Linked DNA regions of Homo sapiens: all the other regions are linked to region 1. The links are contacts of gene promoters, found by promoter capture Hi-C in blood cells and fetal thymus (Javierre and others, 2016). All regions are on one chromosome and are shown on one strand. The core of a region is centred on a gene start or on the middle of the fragment in contact, and the rest is flanking DNA. Distances in the headings are between cores, read along the strand shown.

Evidence for each region. Contacts are between HindIII fragments. The CHiCAGO score rates a contact against its expected background, and 5 or more counts as called.
Region 2: a contact is called between the fragment with the promoter of CIROZ here and the fragment with the promoter of FBXO2 in region 1, in 2 of 17 cell types (M0 macrophages and total B cells). The highest score is 6.8, in M0 macrophages.
Region 3: the fragment with the promoter of TARDBP here is called in contact with the fragment with the promoter of FBXO2 in region 1 in 9 of 17 cell types (M2 macrophages, activated CD4 T cells, fetal thymus and 6 more); the score reaches 6.0 in M2 macrophages.

What each region holds. Positions count from the first base shown.
Region 1 is chr1:11,653,179-11,656,743 of GRCh38, forward strand. FBXO2 (F-box protein 2) reads right to left here and starts at 1,251. Exons shown (of 6, transcript NM_012168.6): 1 at 1,141-1,251. The coding sequence starts at 1,162. FBXO44 (F-box protein 44) reads left to right here and starts at 1,699. Exons shown (of 6, transcript NM_033182.7): 1 at 1,699-1,774; 2 at 2,628-2,922. The coding sequence starts at 2,658. RefSeq lists silencers at 1,201-1,340, 1,581-1,810, 1,861-1,930. The HindIII fragment of the contact is 12,019 bases long and covers 1-3,565 here.
Region 2 is chr1:10,979,963-10,983,731 of GRCh38, forward strand. CIROZ (ciliated left-right organizer protein containing ZP-N domains) reads right to left here and starts at 2,114. Exons shown (of 13, transcript NM_001170754.2): 1 at 2,050-2,114. The coding sequence starts at 2,075. The HindIII fragment of the contact is 7,392 bases long and covers 1-3,769 here.
Region 3 is chr1:11,010,540-11,014,308 of GRCh38, forward strand. It overlaps TARDBP (TAR DNA binding protein), which reads left to right and starts at 2,115. Exons shown (of 6, transcript NM_007375.4): 1 at 2,115-2,204; 2 at 3,177-3,426. The coding sequence starts at 3,189. RefSeq lists silencers at 1,548-1,777, 3,187-3,433 and enhancers at 1,818-2,147, 1,858-2,825. The HindIII fragment of the contact is 20,579 bases long and covers 1-3,769 here.

The DNA of each region.
Region 1 (3,565 bases), core at 1-2,500:
TCCGGCCCTGGCCCCATCGGACACCTGATGCTCCCCGAAAGGTGCACCTCACCCAGTCCCCTCTTCTGGCCCCGGGGCCTGGCACTCGAGGCCCCAGATCCAATTACAGCTCCCCCCACCCTCTCTCTTACACACACAACTCCCCACATTGTTGCCGGCGGAAAGTTATCTGGCCCCTGGAAGCTGCCTGCCTGCGAGGCTGACTCACTCACCTGGAGTGGGCCCCAGAGTCCAGGGTATAGCTGATCCCTGGGAAAAAGCAGGAGCCAGTTCTGGAGCCCTACAGAGGGTGTGGCCAGAAGGCCGTGGATTGGGAGCAAGGGCTGCGAGAGCTGGAATTTTCAGGGCTGGAGGCGGGGGAATGGGGGGTGAGGGGGGGCCTGAGCTTTCATCAGTCTGTTTGCCACCGCCTAACCCAAGCAATGCCCATCCCCAGCTGGACCTGATGAGGAAAGAGTGAGGGCTGTCTGCAGGCAGGTCTTGTTTCCATCCTGACTCAGCAGGCAACCCCTGCAGGCCCCGCAGGGAGTTGGAGGGATGGGGGTGAGGGGTCTTGGGTGCCAGAGAGGATGACTGGGCAGCCTGGGAAGGCCCTGAGCACCAGCCAAAGCTGCCCCCAACGCTCCCTCACCGCTAGTCGGGTCCCCACTGGGCATCTCACCACCCCGGGGAGGGGCAGCCCCTCCAGACAAGGGAGCTCAGGAGGAAGGCAGGAATAGGTGAGGCCAGGCCTGGGACCCCAAGGAACCCACGGGGATTCAGACGGCCCAAGGCCCAGAGCTGGAAGAGCTGATGAAAGAAAAGGCTCGCAGCCTCCCTCCCAGACGCATCCCAGGCCCCCGCCAGACAGACCCTCAGGAAGCTGGGAGGCGGGAATGTGGGGGTCCTCTGGTGCTACTTCCTGGCTAAATGGGACCCAGGAGTTCTCTCTCCTTGCCAGTCGCCTCTCAAGGCCTCCCGCCAGACCAAGATAGCAGAGAGACGTGCTCTTTGGAGACCGCCTCTAGGGCTTCGCTGGCGTGAAAGTTTGCCGCGCCAGGTCTCCGGGTCCCCTCGCTCTCTGACGCCCCTCTGTGCAGCGCTCGCCCGCCGACCCCATCTCCCCTCCCCGCCGCAGCGAGCGGTCCAGGCGTCGGCTACCTGGGTCACCGTCTCCGTCCATCGCTGCGGAGGGCGGTCGCGAGAGGAGGAGCCGGAGCGCTGCGGGCTGCGCGAGTCCCGGGGCGGCGAGTCCCGGCGCTGTCCGCGTCTGTGTCGGTCCCGGCGACCGCGCCTCTTAAAGGCCCCCGACCCGACCCGCCCCGCCCCGCCTCTGGCCCCGCGCCCGGCCGCCCCGCAGTCCCAGCAGTCTGCTCGAGGCCCGGGGCTGCGGGTTCCTCAGCGGACCGAGGAGGCTGGGAAAGGTCAGGAGTCGTTTTTTTTCCAACTGGGGAGGGGTCCGATTTGGGGCATCTCGCAGCTCGCTCCTGGGGGACTGCTGGGAGGAGGCGGCTAGGGGAGGCACGGAGAGGCTGGGTCAGGCCGAGGGTGAGGGGCGGGTGGCCCAGGCGGAGTCGGAGTATAGGAGGTGCCTTCCGCCCCACCCCCCACACCAGGTAATTTTCCTACGACGCGGTGGGGGTGCGTCCCTGGCCCAGCGCTGCGCGGGGCGGGGCGCGGGGCGCGGGGGCGGGGCCTGGCGGGCCGGGGCGGGGCCTCGCTTTCCAGGCAAGCGCAGGTCCAGGCGGTGCAGCTTGGGCGGCCCAACGGATCGTGCCGCGGCGGCCGAGCGCAGGTGACCGGCAGGAGGGGGCGCGGGGGGCGCTGGGGAGGGGGCGCGGCTGGGCGGGGGCTGCCGGGAAGGCTCCTGGGTTCCGGGTCGCGCCGCAGTTGCCGAGGGAGGCCTGGCACCGACCAGGCCCAGGCCGCCGAGCTTGCCCGGGCTGCGCTGCGCGGCTGCGAACGGGGGCTGGGGTCGCCATCGATGTACAGGGGTCCGAGCCCAGACTTTGGGGGGCATTTTAAGGCACAGCGTGGGAAGGGGAGGCTGCAGGCGCGCTGGCGGACTTGGGGCTGGCGGAGCCCAGCCGCGGGGCTGGGGGTGGGAGTGGGGGTGGGGAGATAGGAAGGGCCCTTCCCTGTCGCCCACCCTCTTGCCACTCCCACCTAGGCAGGAGATCATGTCCTCTGAGATCTTGAGAAGGTGGCTGGAGCCCTTTGGACCTCCGCGGGAGGCAGTGATAATTAGCCTCCTCCTCCCATCATGTTCTGAGGATGGGAGAGAGGATGGTGACGGCACCGGAGGCCTGGGGTGCTCTGCCCGGCTGCGCATTATATCCCCATTAAAGACTGGCCTACTGAAAAAGGCTGGCCCTGGAATCAAAGAAGATCCGGGCTTCTTCCCCCTCTGCCCTTATTTTTGACCTTGGGCAGTGCCTTCCACCTCTATTGTGAGAGGCCAGAGAAAAAAATCAGAGCTCACCTTTTATTAAAGTACCTGATGTGTCCCAAGCTCCTTGGACCGCCCCAGTGACCCCTGGAGGTAAGGCATCCATTTACAGAGAAGGAAACAGGCTGGGAGAGGCACCATGCTCTCCCGAGATAAATGGCAGAGCAGGGATGAGGCCTGCAGCATAGCTTTTCAACAGCTACAGGAGGGTGTCCAGAAGCCACAAGCCATGGCTGTGGGGAACATCAACGAGCTGCCCGAGAACATCCTGCTGGAGCTGTTCACGCACGTGCCCGCCCGCCAGCTGCTGCTGAACTGCCGCCTGGTCTGCAGCCTCTGGCGGGACCTCATCGACCTCGTGACCCTCTGGAAACGCAAGTGCCTGCGAGAGGGCTTCATCACTGAGGACTGGGACCAGCCCGTGGCCGACTGGAAGATCTTCTACTTCTTACGGAGCCTGCACAGGAACCTCCTGCACAACCCGTGCGCTGAAGGTGGGGTACAGGCCGGGTCTGGCATGCCTCCAGTACACAGTCATGACACCAGGAACATGTATTGAGCACTTAGTATGAGCCGGGTACTTTGGATGGTTTAACACCTTTACTTCTCTCACAGTAACCCAAAGAGGTAGCTACTGTTAGTGCACACATTTTTCAGATGGGCAAACTGAGGCCAAGAGTGGTGTTTCTTATTCTTACTATACTCTTTTTTTTTTTTTTTTTTTTTTGAGACGGAGTTTCACTCTGTCACCCAGGCTGGAGTACAGTGACACAATCTTGGCTCACTGTAACCTCCACCTCCCAAGTTCAGCCTCCCAAGTAGCTGGGATTACAGGCATGTGCCACCACACCTGGCTAATTTTTTTTTTTTTTTTAGATGGAGTCTCGCTCTGTTGCCCAAGCTGGAGTGCAATGGTGCGATCTCGGCTCACTGCAACCTCCACCTCCTGGGTTCAAGCGATTCTCCTGCCTCAGCCTCCCGAGTAGCTGGGATTACCGGTGCCCGCCACCACGCCCAGCTAATTTTTTGTATTTTTAATAGAGACACAGTTTCACCATGTTGGCCAGGCTGGTCTCAAACTCCTGGCCTCAGGTGATCTGCCCGCCTTGGCCTCCCAAAGTGCTGGGATTACACGCA
Region 2 (3,769 bases), core at 864-3,363, 670 kb before region 1:
CTTGAACCTGGGAGGTGGAGGTTGTGGTGAGCCGAGATCTCACCATTGCGCTCCAGCCTGGGCAACAAGAGCAAAACTCCGTCTCAAAAAAAAGAAAGAAAGAAAGTTAACAGTTTAAAAAGCAATGTGAAAAGGCAGGAATGGGTGCTGCATTTCCTTCTAGGGCTGCCCTCGTTGAGCCATTCGATTCCTGGGTGGGCAGAGGGCCAGGGCCTCAGGCCCAGCCCAGGGAGGCCAAATGCCAGGGCCCACAGTCTCCCCAGAGTGGGTTGGCAAAGAATGACAGGACTGGTTCCCCAGCCTGGAATCTAAGCTGAGCCTGCAGCCTTTGAGCTGGGAGGAGCTTGCGGCTGCCTGGCTGCCCCGCTGCCCCGCTTCATTCGCTGAATTCAGAAGCGCCTGTGGCGAGCCTCTCCCATGGACGGCCGGGTACCCGCCCTGGGCTCTGCTGCCTGGACACTGAGCCCAATGCGGAATTCCTCTCCCAGCAGCGGGGAGGCGCTATTATTAGTTGATTAATTTGCAAAACAAAAACCTGGCTGGGGCAATTGGTCTTGAAGGAAGGTTCTCCCAGAGCGAGTAAATCTGAGACAGGACCAGAAGAATAATCTTGGGGAAAAGGAAAGTGGCTGACTCTGGTGCTGAGTCCCGGCCTTGCCAGGGACCCCGACTCTGCTGTTACACAGGGAATGCTGTCTGGAATCGGCCCGGTGGCAGGTGGGGGGTAGACAGCTCTCCCCTCCGTCTGATGCCTGCTCCTGTTCTCCTCCTTGAGCATCAATCGGGAGAAAGATGTGGGTTTGGGTTTTTCCCCCTCACTTCTCAGACCCAGAACTGCCCCATCCCAGTCTGGGGGGAGACATGATGCTCCATCCCCCAAAGCTGAGCCCCCTCATGGGGCATCCAGGAGAAGGCAATGGGTCCCCAGGACAGGGCCCGGACCTCCCCCTTGCTCGCCCAGCCCCACAAAGCCCCACTCAGCTTCTCCACTGCCTTCATTGTCTACAGACTTCAACCTCACAAAACGCCCAACAAAAGCCCTGCAGTCCACGGCCCAAAGGCCACAAGCCAGCTATTGTGACATTCCAGCTGGCCTGGGAGGCTTCACTTCCCACTCTCAGGAGCTTTTTAAAGTATCTCTTAAAAATGCATCTCAGATGGGGAAAAGAGGTAGCAATTCTGTTGCCAAGGAAAATGAGATTTTGGCCAAGTGCAGTGAGTCATGCCCGTAATCCCAATACTTTGGGAGGCCGAGACAGGAGGATGGCTTGAACCCAGGAGTTTAAGACCAGCCTGGGCAACACAGTAAGACCCTGTCTCTACAAAAAAATTAAAAAATTACCAAAGTGTGGTGGCACATGCCTATGGTCCCAGCTACTCAGGAGGCTAAAGTGGGATGATCACTTGAGCCCAGGAGTTAAGAGATGACAGTGAACTATGATCTTGCCACTGCACTCCAGCCTGGGCAACAGAGCAAGACTCTATCTCAGGAAGAAGGAGAGACAGAGAGGGAGAGAGAGAGAGAAAGAGAAAAGAAAGGAAAGGGAAGGAAGGAAGGAGAAAGGAAGGAAGGCAGGGAGGGAAGGAAGGAAGGGAGGGAAGGAAGGAAAATGAAATTTTCTCCTAATCCTTACAATCGAATAGCTAGCGACCACAACTCCTATCATTTGAAAACTCCTTGAAATCAAGCATCTCTTGGTCAACTTGACCCCTAATTTGTTTTGTTTTAAGGACCCTCTAGGACAAGGAAGACGTGTTCTGTTTTCTCCCAATCTTCTGGAAATCCTTCCCAAGATGGGAGGACTGGAATTCCAGAACAAGGGATGACAGGAGCATGAGAAAGGTGGGAGAGACTGTGGCCGGACCTCACCTGAGAAAGTCAGCCCTTCCCAAGGCATCCATGCATCTGGGCCCCTCACCCATTTGGCCCCCTTCCCTCTTAGATGCAAGGCTTCTGATTCTGATGGAAGATATTTGGCTTCTTCAAGGAGTGTGGGCACACTAAGCATGCCACTGGCTTCTCCCAATTCCTGAATAAGGGACACTTACCAGGCAAGTGCTGGGGACCCCCACATCCTCAGGCCCAGCAGCTCTCTCCTGCCCTGGGAGAATTTAATCTGAAGCAGTTCCAAGCAACTAAACGAAAGGTTGGCTCCTCCCCTTCCCCTCCAGTGCAGGTCTCGGGTCACTCAGGTGCCAGAAAACACAGGTGGGTGTCAACACTCTCAGCTTCTCCCCATCCCTCTGCATGGGTGAGATGAATTGCTTCAGCCGTGGGAGCTCAAAATAAGATTGCGGATCAGAAGGCTGAAGATGAATTGATCCACTGAGGCTGGAGTGCAGGCCCTCATTCTCCGCTCCCGGGAGAAGCCTGTCTCTGTGCCCAAGGAAGGAAAGAAGCTAAGAAACTGAGCTTCACCGGAGGAACAGTCACGCTGTCTTGATGGGGCTTCCCAGAACCCTGCTCCAGGCCCCTCCTGGCAGAGTTCAAAAGGAGCTGAGGGGCCAGGCATGGTGGCTCATGCCTGTAACCCCAGCATTTTGGGATGCAGAGATGGGCAGATTGTTTGAGGTCAGGAGTTCGAAACAAGCCAGGGGAACATGGCAAGACCCTGTCTCTACAAAAAATTTAAAAACTAGCTGGGCATGGTGGCACACACCTGTGGTCCTAGCTACTCAGGAGGCTGAGGTGAGAGGATTGCTTGAGCCCAGGAGGTTGAGGCTGCAGTGAGCCCTGATTGTGCTACTGCACTCCAGCCTGGGCAACAGAACAAGACCCTGTCTAAAAAAAAAAAAAAAAGGGGCCGGGCACAGTCACTCATGCCCATAATCCCAGTGATTTGGGAGGGCGAGGCAGGCTGATCACCTGATGTCAGGACTTCGAGACCAGCCTGGCCAACATGGTGAAACCTTATCTCTACTAAAAATACAAAACTAGCCAGGTGTGGGGGTGCACGCCTGTAATCCCAGCTACTTGGGAAGTTAAGGCAGGAGAATTGCTTGAACCCGGGAGATGGAGGTTGCAGTGAGCCAAGATCGTACCATTGTACTGCAGCCTGGGTGACAAGAGCAAAACTCCGTCTAAAAAAAAAAAAAAAAAAAAAAAAAAAAAAAAAAAAAAAAAAAAAGACCAGGCGCAGTGACTCACGCCTGTAATCCTAGCACTTTGGGAGGCTGAGGTGGGTGGATCATCAGGTCAGGAGTTTGAGACCAGCCTGGCCAACATGGTGAAACCCTGTCTCTACCAAAAATACAAAAAATAGCCGGGCTTGGTGGTGGGCACCTGTAATCCCAGCTACTCTGGAGGCTGAGGCAGGAGAATCGCTTGAACCTGGAAGGCAGAGATTGCAGACAGCTGAGATCGTGCCATTGCACTCCAGCCTGGGCGATACAATAAGACTCCGTCTCAAAAAAAAAAAAAAAAAGGAAGAGGAGATTAGGGCACGGACACATACGGAGGAATGACGGTGTGAGGACACAGGGAGAAGATGGCCAGCTGTGAGCCAGAGAGGCAGCTCCGGAGAAACCAGCCCTGCCTGCACCTTGATCTCAGACTCCTAGCCTCTAGAACTGTGAAGAAATCAATTGGTGTGTAAATCCCAAGTCTGTGGTACTCTGTCGTGGCAGCCCTTGCAAACAAATATCCCTGCAAAATGAGGATTTAGGACTAGATGGTTCCTAATACCCTTTGCAAGTGAAAAAAAAAAAAAGTCTTGATTTTAACTATTCCATTTTATCTGTGTTTATCCCTTCCTCCCCCCGCCCCAAA
Region 3 (3,769 bases), core at 865-3,364, 640 kb before region 1:
TGTAAACACTTGTAACTGTATTTCATTGAGTGTGATACATGTATATACAAAGAAACATAAATAGTTGCCAGTTAAACTATGACACATCATCATCAACTGGAACTGGAACTGAAATCACATACTGACTTCAGCAATGTGAAACATTGGCCGGTCGCGGTGGCTCACGCCTGTAATCCCAGCACTTTGGGAGGCCGAGGCGGGCGGATCACGAGGTCAGGAGATTGAGACCATCCTGGCTAACACGGTGAAACCCCGTCTCTATTAAAAACACAAAAAAATTAGCCGGGCGTGGTGGCGGGCGCCTGTGGTCCCAGCTACTCAGTAGGCTGAGGCAGGAGAATAGAGTGAACCCGGGAGGCGGAGCGTGCAGTGAGCCGAGATAGCGCCACTGCAGTCCAGCCTGGGCAAAAGAGCGAGACTCCATCTCAAAAAAAAGAAAAAAGAAAAAAAAAAGAAATGTGAAACAAAGGCCGGGCGTGGTGGCACTTTGGGAGGCCGAGGTGGGCGGATCACCTGAGGTCAGGAGTTTGAGACCAGCCTGGCCAACAGGGGTTAAAAATACAAAAATTAGCCGGGCATGGTGGTGCATGCCTGTAGACCCAACTACTCAGGAGGCTGAGGCAGGAGAATTGCTTGAACCGGGGAGGCGGAGGTTGCAGTGAGCTGAGATTGTGCCACTGCACTCCACCTTAGGCAACAGAGGGAGTCTGAAAAAAAGGAAGAGAAAAGAAAGAGAGAGAGAGAGAAAGAGAGAGAGGTAGGGAGGAAGGAAGGTGGGAAGGGAGGGAAGGGGGGGAAAGGGAGGGAAGGGAGGAAAGGAAGGGAAGGAAAGGAAAGAAAGGAAAGAAAAGATAGAAAAGAAAGGTGGCTCGTGCCTGTAATCCCAGCACTTTGGGGAGCTGAGGCAGGCGGATCACTTGAGGCCATGAGTTCGAGATCAGCCTGGCCAACATGGCCAAACCCTGTCTCTACTAAAAATACAAAAATTAGCCGGGCATGGTGTCTTTGCACGCCTATAATCCCAGCTATCCCTTGAACCTAGGAGTTGGAAGTGGCAGTGAGCTGCAGATTGCGCCACTGCACTCCAGCCTGGGGGACAAGAGCGAGACTCCGTCTCAAAAAAAAAAAAAAAAAAAGTGAAACAAAAAGTGTGCCTTAAAATAGATGAAGTACTGTATTATTATTATTATTAAAGGGCTGGAGCCAGAACAAGTTAGCATTTTGTGCCTCGAGATTCAAATCCCAGGTCTACCATTTATTCCTTGGGTGACATTTTTTTGGGGGGAGGGGCTGGAGGACAGGGTCTCACTCTGTCGCCTAGACTGGAGTGAAGTGGCGCGATCTCGGCTCACCGCAACCTCCGCCTACCGCGTTCAAGCAATTCTCCTGCTTCAGGCTCCCGAGTAGATGGGACTACAGGCGCGCGCCACTACCGCCCGGCTAATCCTTGCGTCACTTTAAGCAAGACACTTGATCTCTCTGTGCCTCAGTTTCCTCACCCGCAGAATGAATATCAATAGCTCCTGCTACACAAAACTGTTTGGGCTATTAAATATGTGAATACTCAGAAAGTACCTGGCACAAAGTAGCCTTATCATTGCTATTATTTAGAACAAAGTTATTGTTTCCAGGTTTGGAGGTGGGCTGGCGGAGGGAGGAGAAGACGCACTAGGTTGCCTTTCAGAAAAGGGGTCCAGGCCTTATCCTGCCTCCCAGGTGGACTCGGCCCGGGATCCCGAGCCCCGCCCCCTCCAGGCCCCGCCCCGCCCCGCCCTCGCTGGCCGAGACTCTGTGCTACTCTCGCGCGCTTTGAAAGTGCGCGAGCTCCGACCGAGACCTGGGCCGGCGGTTGGTCGGCCGAAACCATCTGCTACGTTACGTGGGGGGAGGTCAGCTCCTATACAGCCACACTTTTTTCAATCTTCAGCTTTTCAGGCCTAGGTCCTGGTTTTATTTTAGCTTTCAGAGCTTCTCTGTAGGCTTGAATTTCCAGGAGGCAGCCCGAGTCCCTGGGGAGAGGGTCATCGTGGCTCTCGTCGGTGCCTTCCACCTCTGGACAGGCAACCGGTGGGAGAGGACGCCGGTGGGCGGGGGGAGGAGGCGGCCCTAGCGCCATTTTGTGGGAGCGAAGCGGTGGCTGGGCTGCGCTTGGGTCCGTCGCTGCTTCGGTGTCCCTGTCGGGCTTCCCAGCAGCGGCCTAGCGGGTGAGTCGCGGAGCCTTCTCACTGAGGACGCCGTAGGTGCCTCGGCTTCTGCATTGGGGCGGCCCGAGGCAGACGCAGCGGCTTCGGACCCTGCCCCGGGAAGTCAGCCGTGAGACCGGGCCTAGTCCTGCCCGAGCGGGCTCGCGCGGGAGCGTCGTTAGGTCCTGGCACGGGGAGGCCGGTGGCGCCGAAACGGGGGGCCGGGCCCGCGGTGCCGCGTAGCCTGAGGCGGAGGTTGGCCCCGGACCCGGACAGTGCCGGAGCCTTCGGTACTTTGTACTTCGAGGGACGCTGCCAGCTTGGGCCTGGTGCTCCTGCGCCCCACCCCGGGCCGCGCCGAGAAACTCCTCCCTCGGCTGGCACGCGCGGGCTTCTGGGAGGCGACGGCCGGCACCGCCAGGACCTGTCGCCGCGGGCCTTGGGGCTCGGGCTCGCAGAGCCCCCGGAAGCCCCAAAATGAGGAACAGAGGGAAACTTTTCTCCTGTTCTTTACACCTGGTTCACTGCCCATATTCAGTCTTCAGGTTCAGCTGATGGATCGCTTGCTTAGGAAAATCGACTGGGACCTATCACGCCCATGCCTCAGCCAGTTAGGCTCCTCCTCTGCCTTCAGGATTACTTAACGACTAACCCGATTGTCATAAAATAGCTACTGTTTATTGTTCCCTTGCATACCCTAGCTTGTAACCAGCAAGCCACGTTGGACTCACAGTTACAGTTTCAGTACCTGACGCATCATAAGCCTTCAGGGAAAGTTTTTTGAATGAATGAACTGGCGAGGCATCACATTTTGATAGGAAATCACTACCCTTACCTTCACCTCGTCATTTTTCAGGGATAACCAATGCATATACGAATCCAGACAAGCATTTTTCTGGAAGTCAGAACTCTGACATGGTTTGGGTATTATCATTATAAGGAAACAGTTATTCTGACATGAATGTTGTTCATTCATATCTCTTTTCTCTTTAGGAAAAGTAAAAGATGTCTGAATATATTCGGGTAACCGAAGATGAGAACGATGAGCCCATTGAAATACCATCGGAAGACGATGGGACGGTGCTGCTCTCCACGGTTACAGCCCAGTTTCCAGGGGCGTGTGGGCTTCGCTACAGGAATCCAGTGTCTCAGTGTATGAGAGGTGTCCGGCTGGTAGAAGGAATTCTGCATGCCCCAGATGCTGGCTGGGGAAATCTGGTGTATGTTGTCAACTATCCAAAAGGTTTGTTACCATTTGGTTTTTGTAATCATGCTGAAGTGTGTTCAGGTGTGTGTCTCATCCATGGATCTTAGCCTCTTTTGGTGGCAGAATGTCTCCTGAAACTTAAGTATTTCCTTGAACTTCAGTGTTAGACAAGTTTGGAAGACCACGAGTCTAAATTTATGGAAACTGGGGATTGTAGATCATTTTAAAAGAGAAAACAATGTATTTAAAAAATATCTGAATAAACTTTGCCAAGTTGATGATAAATTTCAGGAATCACTAAGAATGTTTTGTACATAAATCATTGTTGTAAATAGATTCTTCTGAAGTGCTTCAGTGTTTGGATTTGATCATTGTCCTT